Linked DNA regions of Homo sapiens: region 2 is linked to region 1. The links are contacts of gene promoters, found by promoter capture Hi-C in blood cells and fetal thymus (Javierre and others, 2016). All regions are on one chromosome and are shown on one strand. Each heading gives the region's core, a stretch centred on a gene start or on the middle of the fragment in contact. The rest is flanking DNA. Distances are from core to core; before and after follow the strand shown.

Evidence for each region. The method cuts DNA at HindIII sites, captures the fragments that hold promoters and counts their contacts. A CHiCAGO score of 5 or more calls a contact.
Region 2: the fragment with the promoter of ZNF184 here is called in contact with the fragment with the promoter of TRIM38 in region 1 in 3 of 17 cell types (non-activated CD4 T cells, naive CD8 T cells and activated CD4 T cells); the score reaches 13.9 in non-activated CD4 T cells.

What each region holds. Positions count from the first base shown.
Region 1 is chr6:25,958,094-25,964,051 of GRCh38, forward strand. TRIM38 (tripartite motif containing 38) reads left to right here and starts at 4,709. Exons shown (of 8, transcript NM_006355.5): 1 at 4,709-4,762; 2 at 4,956-5,189. RefSeq lists a cis regulatory region at 577-881. The HindIII fragment of the contact is 6,907 bases long and covers 1,153-5,958 here.
Region 2 is chr6:27,470,295-27,476,841 of GRCh38, forward strand. It overlaps ZNF184 (zinc finger protein 184), which reads right to left and starts at 2,811. Exons shown (of 6, transcript NM_001318891.2): 1 at 2,435-2,811; 2 at 1,994-2,139. The coding sequence starts at 2,000. LOC105375001 (a long non-coding RNA gene) reads left to right here and starts at 2,830. Exons shown (of 2, transcript XR_926664.4): 1 at 2,830-3,015; 2 at 4,800-5,686. RefSeq lists enhancers at 1,933-2,062, 2,393-2,482, 2,503-2,602, 2,663-2,822. The HindIII fragment of the contact is 5,482 bases long and covers 1-4,211 here.

The sequences.
Region 1 (5,958 bases), core at 3,459-5,958:
GTGTGAGCCACCACACCGGTCTGGTTTTTTTTGGTGGTTGTTGTTTTAATCCTATAATCCTGTGTCCTTTCTTCCTACCTCTGAGTAGTGCTTACTCTCTCCCCTTTAGTCATTTGAAAAGTTTATCAGAAAGTGGGTGCAGTTTCAGGCTGGGTACCGTGGCTCATGCCTGTAATCCCAACACTTTGAAATGCTTAGATGGGAGGATCATTTGAACCCAGTTCAAGATTACAGTGAGCTGTGATCGTACCATTGTACTTCAGCCAGGGTGACAGTGCAAGAGCCTGTCTCTAAAAACAAACAAAAAATTGCTTTCACACTGTGATGCTATCACATCTCTCCTAAGCTCTTGTTGGGGCTCAGAAATTGATACCCTAATATATGGCCCTTGGTCATATTGAACTGAAGAAGCCTCAAAGTCTCTCTGACATCCCTGCCACCAACTATCCCTACCAAAACACATCGTGGAATTAAAGTTTCTTTATCTACCTAAGATCCAGACCCACCAAAAAGAGCAATTATTTTTATTTACCCTTCCTGTAAGACCAAGAATGTAACCATGCCCGAACGGACTTTCACAAGATAATGTTCAAGTTAATCTCTGTTCCCTGATCTACTTACTCTCCCTAGTAATGAAAGGAGTTGGCCAGCTTGCTTTAGGCAGACAGTAAGGGAATGGTACCCAGAGAACCTCTGACCTGCCCCACAAGTGCTTACACCGGATGTTTTGTGCAGATAAGGGAACTTGCACAGGGGGCTTGCCTAAACATGCCTGCAGTGGATGATTCCTTTCCTTAACACATGCACAGTTCAGGAAATTAATCAATATGGAGTAGCTCAGTCTAAAGGCCTGCATGCACTGGTAGGACAGGGTGGAGTTGTCAGGAATTTGAGTCTTAAGCCCTAGTATTCAACTGTGAAGAGCAAACCAGAAATCTGCTTTCAGGACCCTTGTCTTTGCTGAGAGCTTTCCTTTCACTTAATAAATTCTACTCCACTCATTCTTTGATGGCTGCATGCCTAATTCTTCCTGGCTGTGAGACAAAAACCCGGACCTAGCTGAGCGAAGGAGCAAAAATCCGCAACAGTAATCCCATCAACAGAGTTTCTCTTCTTCCCCTCCCATAATCTGTTTTGCCAGGATAATATATAAGCTTTTAAGCCCTCTTGGGAAGTGGATAATCATTCTATGGTTCTCCCTGTGTACATGTTAATAAATTTGTGAGTTGATTTTTCAGCAAAGTTTCCCCAGAAGCCAAAGGGGAAATTTCCCTTGGCCCCTCCACTCTCTTTTCCCAGCTCTTCTTTTACTTTCGTTTTTATTTCCTCAGCCCAGTAGGTCACAGCCTTCTTTTTATTTCTTCTCTGTCCAAACCATCAGTATATCCTACAGGTGGGAGAGAAGCAGCTCTCTGGGAAACCAGTAAGCACCATGAGTTCTGATACTTTCTAGTACCATTTGACATATTAACATCCCCGCCACCCCTAATATGTATGGACACGCACACACATACCACATCACATGCATCACACTAACACAAACTATGTATCACATACCACACACAGCACACACAGTACCACATACCCCACACAACACCCACACCACACTACGTGCATCATGCACATATGTGCACACACCTCTTGTGATGTGTGTTTAGTGCAATTCAGAAAGTTACTCTTTGATTTAATGCACATCACTATGCTTAGAAATATTCTAGTTACTGGGATTCATCAGTGAACAATATTGAAAAAAATCCATCCCTTTGCATTCTCATGAGGGAAGCAAACACTAAACAAAATAAATTAGTAAAATATTCAGTGATAAGTGCCATGGGAACAAAATAGATTTGAAAATGTTTGGGAGGGAGAGAGGGGTACACTTGCTAACAAGTGGTCAGGATAGGGTTAGTTGAGAGGCAAAATCTGAAGGAGTTGAGGAAAGGCATTCTAGGAATAGCTGAGTGCTGACTCTTGCCCACAGTGGGAACACACAGTACAGAGCTTCTGAAGGAGACTCTAGTGACCTACTTCCCATTGTGAGTCTTTGGACTCCTATATCCCATAATCACAGGATCAAGCCTAACTTTACATATTAGAGATAATGCATTCCTCCTTGGGGATAGTTCAGGTTGATTTCTCCCTAGGCCTGCCTTTGTCAACATATTCCTGAAGTCTCATCTGCACCCCATCTCTGCTTCTAATATTGGCCACTCTGTGCATGAACCAGCCCCTCCTTCCTGCAATGGGAAACAGGTGTGAGATGGGACAGCTGTCACAATCCGTTTTGCTTTTGTCTTGCTGTTATTATTGGTAATGGTAGTTTGTTTCCTTTTTAGCATTCACTAGCTTCCTTTTCCTGATCCTTTGATAGTGTTACCAGAAAGGGGGTCCCAACCCAGACCCTAAGAGAAGGTTCTTAGATCTCGTGTGAGAAAGAATTTGGGGCAAGTCTACACAGTAAAGTGAAAGCAAGAAAGTAAAGGAATAAAAGAACGGCTACTCTACAGGCAGAGCATCAGCTTCTGGACTAAGGATACTGATATGGTTTGGCTGTGTCCCCACCTAACTCTCATCTTAAATTCCCACATATTGTGGGAGGGACCTGGTGGGAGGTAATTGAATCATGGGGGCAGGTCTTTCCCTGAGTAATTTATACTGCTGTTCTCATGATAGTCAATAAGTTTCATGAGACCTGATGGTTTTATAGAAAGGAATTTCCCTGCACAAGCTCTTTGCCTGCTGCCATCCATGTAAGACCTGACTTGCTCCTCCTTGCCTTCTGCTGTGGTTGTGAGGTCTCCCCAGACACGTGGGACTGTAAGAGCATGAAACATTTTTTCCTGGTATAAATTACTCAGTCTCAGGTATGTCTGGATCAGCAGTGTGAAAATGGACTAATACAGATACTTACAGTTATTTCTTGATTATGTACTAAACAAGGAGTGGATTATTCATATGTTTTCTGGGAAAGATGTGGGCAATTCCCAGAACCAAGCGTTCCTCCCCTTTTTAGACTATATAGGGTAGCTTCCTGACATCGCCATGGTATTTATAAACCACTATGGAGCTGGTGGGAATGCCTTCTAACTTGCTAACACATTATAATTCGTGTATAATGAGCAATGAGAATGACTAGAGGCCACTCTTGTTGCCATCTTGATTTTGGTGGGTTTTGGTCAGCTTCTTTACTGCAACCTGTTTTATCAGCAAGATCTTTATGACCTGTGTCTTGTGCCAACTGCCTATTTCATCCTGTGACTTACAATGCCTAACTTCCTGGGAATGCAGCCCAGTAGGTCTCAGCCTTATTTTACCTAGCCCCCATTCAAAATGGAGTCATTCTGGTTTGAACACCTCTGACAATAGGACAGATCTGGAATGAGCCATGCCTGGGTACAGAGTCACATCCACAACAATGAAAGTTGTAGATATCTGCAAGGACTCATCGTGGGACCAAGGATTCAGGGGCTCATTCTTTCTCCTCTCTCTGTGTGCTGGTTGCCTCAGGAGTAGAATGTCCCATGCTATGCATGGGGTCTGCAACCATCATGCCAGGGCATGATGAATCGTAGGTGGCAAAACAACAGAAGGCTCTGTGAGCACCCAGGAGGGTGCAGTGCTGAAGAGTCTTCTGCTTGGTATAGGAAGAAAGGAACGTGTTTCCCAATCTTGCCTTTATTTTGAGTAGTTGGACCAGAGGGATTGCAGCTGGGCCAAACTCCATGTTCCATTGGCTATCAGGGTCAGCAGGCAGGCCAGGGGCCCAGACAGGCCAGTGGCTCCCAGAATTCAAGTTTAATTTCTCCTCCCACCTGTGTCCTGAGCTCCCCTTACTGGTTCCCTTGGACCACTGCATCTACTTAAGCCAGCATTTATTATGTTGTTATCATAAATGCCTCTTACACCTGAGACTTATAAATGTGACAAGCTCTTATTGTGAGATAGTAATCCATCTTTTTTCCCCATGAAATAATAATTCTAACGGGTGGTGATAGTACTTTTCCTTTCATTTTGAAGTGGAGAAGCTGGAGCTAAGTCATTAAGGACTTGACCCTGGACCCCACAGCCTTTTCTCCACAAAGCACAAAGCAGAGTGATGGTCCCAGGGATCCCACACAGCTCTAAGCTGGGGGCACTCACTGCTGGGCCACTAGTGACTCCCATTTTCTATCCTGGCTGACCCTCGCTATTGAAGAAGATCTGAGTCCTGCAGAAGGACAGCAAGGAGAAAAACAAGACACAGAACGGGACAGAGAAGAATAGAAAGCTGACTCAGATGAATTTTGTGATGCCAATGAGTCCTACTGCTGTTACCACCCCTTTTTCCACCACACCCTTCAGAGCAGTTATAGAACCACAAGCAACCCATAAATAGCAAAAGAAGTAACATCAGCTAGGAAGGCTTAAGGACTCCCAAGGGAGTTGGTGGCAAAAGTAGAAAGATCTCAAATCAGAGTCTGTGAACTGAACCTCTGCAGGCTTCCTGTTTTTAGATACTCTGTGTTGGGGTCACATGATAGTTTACAGGGTTATTAATTGGTTCCTTCTTTTTATTGCTGTAAAAGAAGGATATTTTCTTCCTACGTTTCCCCCTCCTTTACCGGAGAGGCGGAGTGCAAATGATATGAACAACGTCACTAGTTTTCTCCTAAATCTTATGAGCCCCGCCTCCCACAGTAGTTTCACTTCTCAGTTTAATCCGGTCTGAGTTAACTTCCTGACCCAGGAAGTGGCAGCAACAGAGGGGACTAGCAGCGAATATGTAAGTGTCTGAGCAGTGAAGGTTACGGAAAAGGTCCAGGCTAAGGTTTTCTCAGTGGATATGTGAGTGTGTACTGATGGCAAGTGGGGTGGGGAATATATTTCGTGACAGCAGGGCCCCTCCAACTCTGAAAATGGTCAGGACTTTCTTTGTTTTACAGCTCTCACCTCTTTCCTGCTCTTTCTTTCACCAGACTTTACACCAAATCTCAGAAGATTCAGAACTTAGATGAGTGGGGCCCAGGACAGGAACCCTGGAGCCTTGGAAGGAGGGGAGCCCCATCTCCCCAGAAGAGCAGTGACCCCAGCAGAGAGGGGCCTGGTGTATCACTGGAGGAAATAGCCTGCCAAGGAATACACGTCTTCAGAAGAAATTCTGTGTGGCTTCAAGAGACTGATCAAATTGTGAGAGGAAAACAGCCTACCCGGTAATTGTAGTTAAATTACTGTTTTTTATTCTAGGCACTCTTCAAACTTCCTCCTGACTCTGCCCCTGTCCTAGAGGAGCTCCCAGGAGTAGGGGTGTGGGGGCGGGCGGGGGGGAGGGATCGGGGGTACAGGGAGAGCCCAGCTAGGTTCTCAGAAGAGGCAGGCTTTTTCGCTCCTGGTCACTCCTCTGTTGCCTATCCCTGGCCTCCCCCATCTTCTTTCTGCCTTCCCTACCTCCTTGGGTCTGCAAACTCTTTATGTTGCAATCACTCTGAACATGTCTCTTGAGATAGGTCCTGTCCTGGAGAAGAGATAGTAAAAGTAAACTCCCCAGTTCTGCAGGAGCTCTGATCCCATAGAAATAACTGCTCCTCAGGAGCAAACCCTCTGCTCTGCAGCCTTCTTTCCAATTCTTATTCCCTCAGTTTAGGGAGAGGGCACAAAAAGGATAAACCGGTTCTTCTGGTTGTTCTGGTTGCCTTGATTGCTTCCATTATCCTCCTGGTTGGGTCTCTAGCAAGACGTTATTAGCCAGGGAAGTCCCACTTAGGCACCCCTCTCTGCAGAAGAGGTATTCACTATTCTCCTTTCTCTTTCTTTTGCCTATTATACCTCTGCTCCTGAAAGCAAAAACAACAACAACAAAAACACAAACAAAAAACAACCGACCTTATTAACCAGTGTTGGTTGTTGTTCTTTGTGGGGGATGGGGGGGGTCGAGGTGGAGTCAAATTTTATTGTCATGATGGTGTAGGAGCCAAGGGAACA
Region 2 (6,547 bases), core at 1,561-4,060, 1.5 Mb after region 1:
AGCACCATGCTGGCAACAGTGTGCCATAGACAGCTTAGGCAGGTGGGGGTGATGAATAATATGGAGAAAAGCAGTTTCAACTGTTTGGCTAAGTATGTAAGTTTCATTTTGTAAAAAATGTATTAATCAAGAAATTCTTAATTTATATTAATGGTGTCATGCCTCAGAAAGTAGAGGAAGCAATAAAGGGAACTATTATGCTCAACTTGATCTTGACCAGTAAAGAAAAACTGTTTTGTAACAGAAGTCTTAAGAAAAAAATGAAGATATTATCTTGGAAGCTCTTAACAGTGAAAGAAAATGTTCTAAATGCACAGACAGGTACCTAAGACTTTAGGAAAACAGAATCAAGAGAAATGTCTCAGGTAAGATGCTTTTTATTCCAAATAACAGCAACCAACAGAACCAAAAACAGCAACAGTTACAGAAACCAACTGTGTGCTTGGCACATAGTAAATGCTCAGTATGTGCTACAAAAGTTATGATTACAAGGAACAGAGGCTCAGTAAAGTTAATCCTAATGATAAAATTGTGAGAAATCCACAAAATAAAGAAAATACAAAGGCTTTTAATGAAACTACTTTGGCTGATTTAATTCTGAGAAACTTAGAATATATATATAAAAAAATCCACTGTAAAAAAGACTTGAAGTACAAAAAATTGAAGAAAAGTATGGACCAAACCTACATTATTCACATGACTAATATGAATAATGTTAAGACTTCTAATGATATTATCTTTAACAAAGGCAAAAAAAGGACTGCATGATAATAGTTAGGTCAAACCAAACTTGATTGCACAGCCATACCTAAAGAATGTAAAGACAACACCAATGCAGAGAGAACTCCATAGGGACATGTCATAAGCCTCTATCCTTACCCTGATCTGTTCAATGACAGGTAGGAAGAAATAGAAGGAATATTCATCAAATCCGCTAGTGGCATTAAGTTAGAAAGGACAGTTAAGGCACTGAATAACTAAATTAGGATTCATAATCATTCTGAAAGCCTAAAACATGTGACCAAAAAATTGAACAGTCATAAATGTAAGTCATGACATTAAGGATAATAATAATTCCATTACACAAAAATGGTGTAAATCTAGATCACTGCAGTTTATGTAAAAAAGATCTAAAGTTTACAGTACATCACTGATAGTTTTTAAAGCAAATGTGATCTAATGCCAAACAGCGGAAGTATAATCCGAGTCAAAGGAAGTAGTACATTATCCTCTCAGGTACTTTTCAAAGCACATCCAAAGAGCTATGTTTACCATTAGGCACTGCATTTTAAGAAAAATGCTGACAAGCAGGAGAGTTTTCAGAGAAAGGTCTAGATACATCACATAGACCAATCAAAAGAAGTGAGGCTATATTGCTTAGAAAAGAATTTATGAGGAGGAGTTGTAACAGCTGAATTCACATATCTTAAGGGCAGCAGTGTGAAAGAAAGAACAGACAGTTTCCTTTTCTTTGGAGGACTAAGAACTAAGATCAACACAAAAGTTACAGGGACAAGTACATCTGTTTAATATAAGAAACTAAAAAAGAAAGCCAACAAGGGAATAGTCTGCACCCAAAATGGCGAGTTTAATGCCACACTAGTTCGGGCATAGGGTTGACAGACAGCCGTCTGCCAAGGAGATTTCAAAACTGACTCTTTCATTGAAGGGATAATTGCCAAGATGTCTTCTGACTTCAAGATTATAATTTTAATATTTAATATTCAGAAGTCATGTGGGGATCACAGATATTCTGAATGATTATGTCTTTTCATTCCCCAATGGAACGAAAGAAAAAAATAAACTCCTCTCCCAAGTATCTCTCTATAAAACAGAATCTCTCCCTACAATGTAATTCGGTTTCTTTGCTAATCCCTAAGCATACCGTTCCTTCCTTCCAAATCTCCTGCTCTGATCTCAAGTATTTGATACTCCAGTCATGACTGTTCTCAAGCCTCCATCACCCCGCTCTCCCCCAAGTCGACCCCACTACCTTCCATCTCAGGAGCTCATCCCGTTCCTCTGGAACTTGAACACCAGGGTTCGCCAGGCAGCGTTCCTTCAGCTGGTATCTCGGTCTAGGACTCAGATGTCTAACTCCCCTTGCAGGGAATCTGCAACACGCTGAGGTTGTCTACCCTAAAAGACACAGGATGGCGTCAGCAGCATACGTCACACAATCACACATCAGAGTCTTGCAAAGTGACCAAGAGGTGCTACACAAGAGAAGTGCCCCAAGAGAGCACTAGAGAGGTGTGTGGCACTCCGATGAACAAAACAGAGTGGAGATCGGGTACGCGGGTTCTGCTTCAGATCCAAAAAACCCTTGGTGCCCACCCTAGAATCTGGCCGGGGCATCCACAGACCTGGTGTGTTCCCTCTGTGCACACTTGTGACTCACACCCCTGCGAGCTCGGATAACACGAAGACACACCTGTTGCAGAGCGTTAAAGCTGGAAGGTGGACAAACAGGGCGGGGCCCGGCACCCGACTTCCCCTTAGGCCAGAACAAAAGAACAAAGCCCTCCAAGGGATCAGGGCGGGACCGCCCCGCACAGAAGGAGGCGAGGTGCGCCCCCTTCGAGGACTCCCCAGCTTTCTCCTGCAGAGGCCTCTAAGCGCGAAATCAGAAGGGTGACGTCACGAGTCCGGAGGGCTGGCTGTTGCCATGGTGATACCTGAGCTCCCCTCCCCCTATAGCGATCCACACACTCTGATCCCGGGTCCGGAAGCGCATTGACCGCCACCAGACCTAACGCAGGGAGCCGAAGCAACTGGACTTCCAGCGCGCCAACCTCTTTCCACGCCTACAACCGGCTTCAACGGTCACTTCCGGTCGTTACGAGCGAGCCCCGCCCCGCACGCCGGCGCCGGGCGGGCACACTGGACCAGCGTTCCCAGAACACTCCGCGAAGGTGTTCCTGAACTTCATTTCCCAGAGGCTTTAGCTAACGTGTACTTTCGCCCTGCGATGGGCCGCACATTTTCGCCGCCAGTCTTTTGCTCCTGTTTCAGGTATGCGTGTGCATTGTAAACTTGTCTGACTGAACTGATTATAAGAAATGCACGTCTACTGACCGAGCGCAGTGGCTCACGTCTGTAATCTGAGCACTTTGGGAGGCCGAGGTGGGTGGATCACTAGGTCAGGAGTTCGAGACTCAGCCTGGCCAATATGGTGACACCCCGTCTCTACTAAAAATACAAAAATTAGCCGGGCGTGGTGGCGCGCGCCTGTAGCTACTCAGGAGGCAGAGGCAGAAGAATCGCTTGAACCCGGGAGGAAGAGGTTGCAGTCAGCCGAGATCGCGCCACTGCACTCCAGCCTGGGCGGCAGAGCGAGACTCCGTCTCAAAAAAACAAAACAACAAAAAAAAAAAAAAGAAAGAAAGAAAAGAAAAAAAAGAAATACACGTCTACACACAGTTTTAAAACGCAAACAATCGTTACCTTTATTACATGTTCTACCTTCTATTTTCTGTTCTACTCTTTTGTCGTTTTGAAAATACTGGTAGTTACCCATTAAAATTGTTTTCACGACTCTCAAATGAGTGGCGACCAACTTTTTTTTTTTTTTTTTTTTTTTTGAGACGGAATCTAGCTCTGTTGCTCAGGCTGGAGTGCAATGGCGCGATCTCGGCTCGCTGCAACCTCCACCTCCCGGGTTCAAGCGATTCTCCTGCCTCAGCCTCCCGAGTAGCTGGGATTACAGGCATGCACCACCATCCCCGGCTAATTTTTGTATTTTTAGTAGAGACGAGGGGGTCACCATGTTGGCCAGGCTGGTCTCGAACTCCTGACCTCAAGTGATCCGCCCGCCTCGGCCTCCCAAAGTGCTGGGATTGCAGGCGTGAGCCACTGCGCCCGGCCCCAACATGTTTTTCTAATGCTTAAGGAAACCCGGAGATAATATTCCCATGTTTTGCCACTTAGTAAAGCATTTTATATGCCTGTGTCAGCGAGCACATAGCTGCAAGTGTAGCCCATGGCCAGTCTGTCACTGTGTCCTTGGCAGAAAAAAAGAATCCAACAAATCGGTAGGTTTTTATATTTAAGACATGGCACTTGCATTTTATTATGCTGGCGTGCATCCCCAGCATTTGGATAAGGGGCCAAGGTCAAGTCTCTCAGACTGTTGGCTGACAAACATTAAACCTGGAAATCCTAACAGAGTGTATGAAAAACAATTACAGTCAAGGGAACATGATAGAGAAAGCTTCGGTCATCTTAGAGAATGCATATATTGCCATGAAGAGAACATTGGTTTAAAAAAAAATGTTCAAGAGAATGAAAAGACAAGTCACAGACTGGGAGAAAATACTTGCAAAGTACATATCTGATAAAGAACTGATATCCAAAATATATAAGAACTCTTAAAACTCAACAATAAGGAGACAAACCGATTAAAAAAATAGGCCAAAGACCCTAACAGATGTCACCAAAGAAGATATGCAGATGGAAAATAAGCATATGAAAAGATGCTCCACATATGTCCTCAGTGAAATGCAAATTAAAACAATGGGATGCCACTATACACCTGTCAAAATGGCCAAAATCCAGAACCCTGACAATACCAAATGCTGACAAGGATGTGGAGCACAGGAACTTTCATTCATTGCTGGTGGGAATGCAAAATATTAGAGTTACGTTGGAGGACAGTTTGACAATTTCTTACAAAACTAAACATACTCTTACCATATGATCTAGTAATTGTGTTCCTTGGTATTTATGCAAAGGAGTTGAAAATGTATGTCCACACAAAACGTGCCCAAGAATGTTTATAGCAGCTTTGTTCATGATAGGCAAAACTTGGAAGCAGCCAGATGTCCTTCAGTACATGAATGAATACATAAACTATGGTACATTCAGACAATGGAACATTCAGTAAGGAAAAGAAATGAGCTATCAAGCTACCAAAAAGGAAGAACAGAAGAATATTAAGTGCGTATTGGTGAGTGAAAGAAGTCAATCTGGAAAAGGCTATATACTGTATAATTCCATCTACATAACATTCCTGAAAAGGCTAATCTATGGAAACAGCAAAGATTGGTGGTTGCCAGGGGCTTAGGGGGAGGGAAAAAGGGAAGAATAAGTGACATTCAGTGGATTTTAAGAGGGAAGAATAAGTGACGTTCAGTGGATTTTAAGAGGGAAGAATAAGTGACGTTCAGTGGATTTTTAAGGCAGTGAAACTATTCTGTATGATATTGTAATGGCGAATACATGTTGTTATACATTTGTTAAAACCCATAGAATATACAGCACAAAGAGTGAACCGTAATATAAACTATGGTCTTTAGTTAATAATAATTTATCAACATTGGCTCATCAATTTTAACAGATGTACCACACTAGTGCAAGATGTTAATAATAGAGAAACTGGGGGAGGAGGGGAGAAGGAAGGAGTATACTGAAACTCTACTTTCTGCTCAATTTTTCTATAAACCTAAAACTGTTCCCAAAATGTTCTATTAAATTTAAAATATAAGAATGTTAAATATGCTTATGGTAAGGTCTCAGAAGGAAATTAATGACATGCAATTAGAAACTGAAGGAATGGTTATCTTGTTATAAAGTGGGAGAGCCTTGGCTGAATTGTATTCTATATTTGGGTGGAAAACAGAATTTGTACATGATGAACTTGAATATTTAGTTAAGAAGACTTCCAAGTAAAATGTGGAATGTGCAACCTGGTTAGTTATTGCTGCTTATGGTGAAATGCATGAGGAAAGAAATAAACTGAGGAAGGAACTATTCAGCACAAAGGAACCAGCACTCATGATTTGGAAAACTTTTAGCCATACCTTATACAAATGAGGCTTTCAATACATGTTGAGGACACAGAAAGATATAATTTTTGTCTTCAGTGACTTCTCTATATGTTGCACAAAGTGGCCTCCAACTCCTGACCTCAAGCAATCCTCCCACCTCGGCCTTCCTAAATGCTGGGGTTACAGTCCATAAGCCACTGAACCCAGCCCTCAGAAACCTTTTGTGCTTAAAAAAACACCTCAGCAAAATACAAAGCAACTAGTGATATATTTGAACTGAAATTACTAATCAACTTTGGCTTGTTTTACTGTAACAATGACTAGGGACTGGCCACAGCTGCAATCTTACTTGTTTTACTGGGCTGAAAACAAAAACATAGTAGAATGGATCTCAGTAAAGGTAGAGAGTCAGGACTTAGTTGCAGGAAACAAAAACCAGTCCAGTTTCTACTTTAGCCCTAAATTGGAAACAAATCAAATGTCCTTCTATACTTAAAAAGGCAAATTGTCAGTTTTTCTTCAAATACAAGGAATACAAAGAAAATACATTTTTTTTCTACAAAGAAAAAAAAGTTAGCTAGGAGTGGTGGTGCATGCTTCTATTCCTAGCTACTCTGGAGGCTGAGGCAGAAGGATGGCTTGTGCCCAAGAGTTCAGGTTACAGTAAGCTATGATGGTGCCACTGCACTCCAGTCTGTGTGATAGAGTAAGACCCTGATTCTAAAATTTTTTTAAATTTCTTAAAAGAGATTTGATATTTCTTTGGTATCTAACTTTAT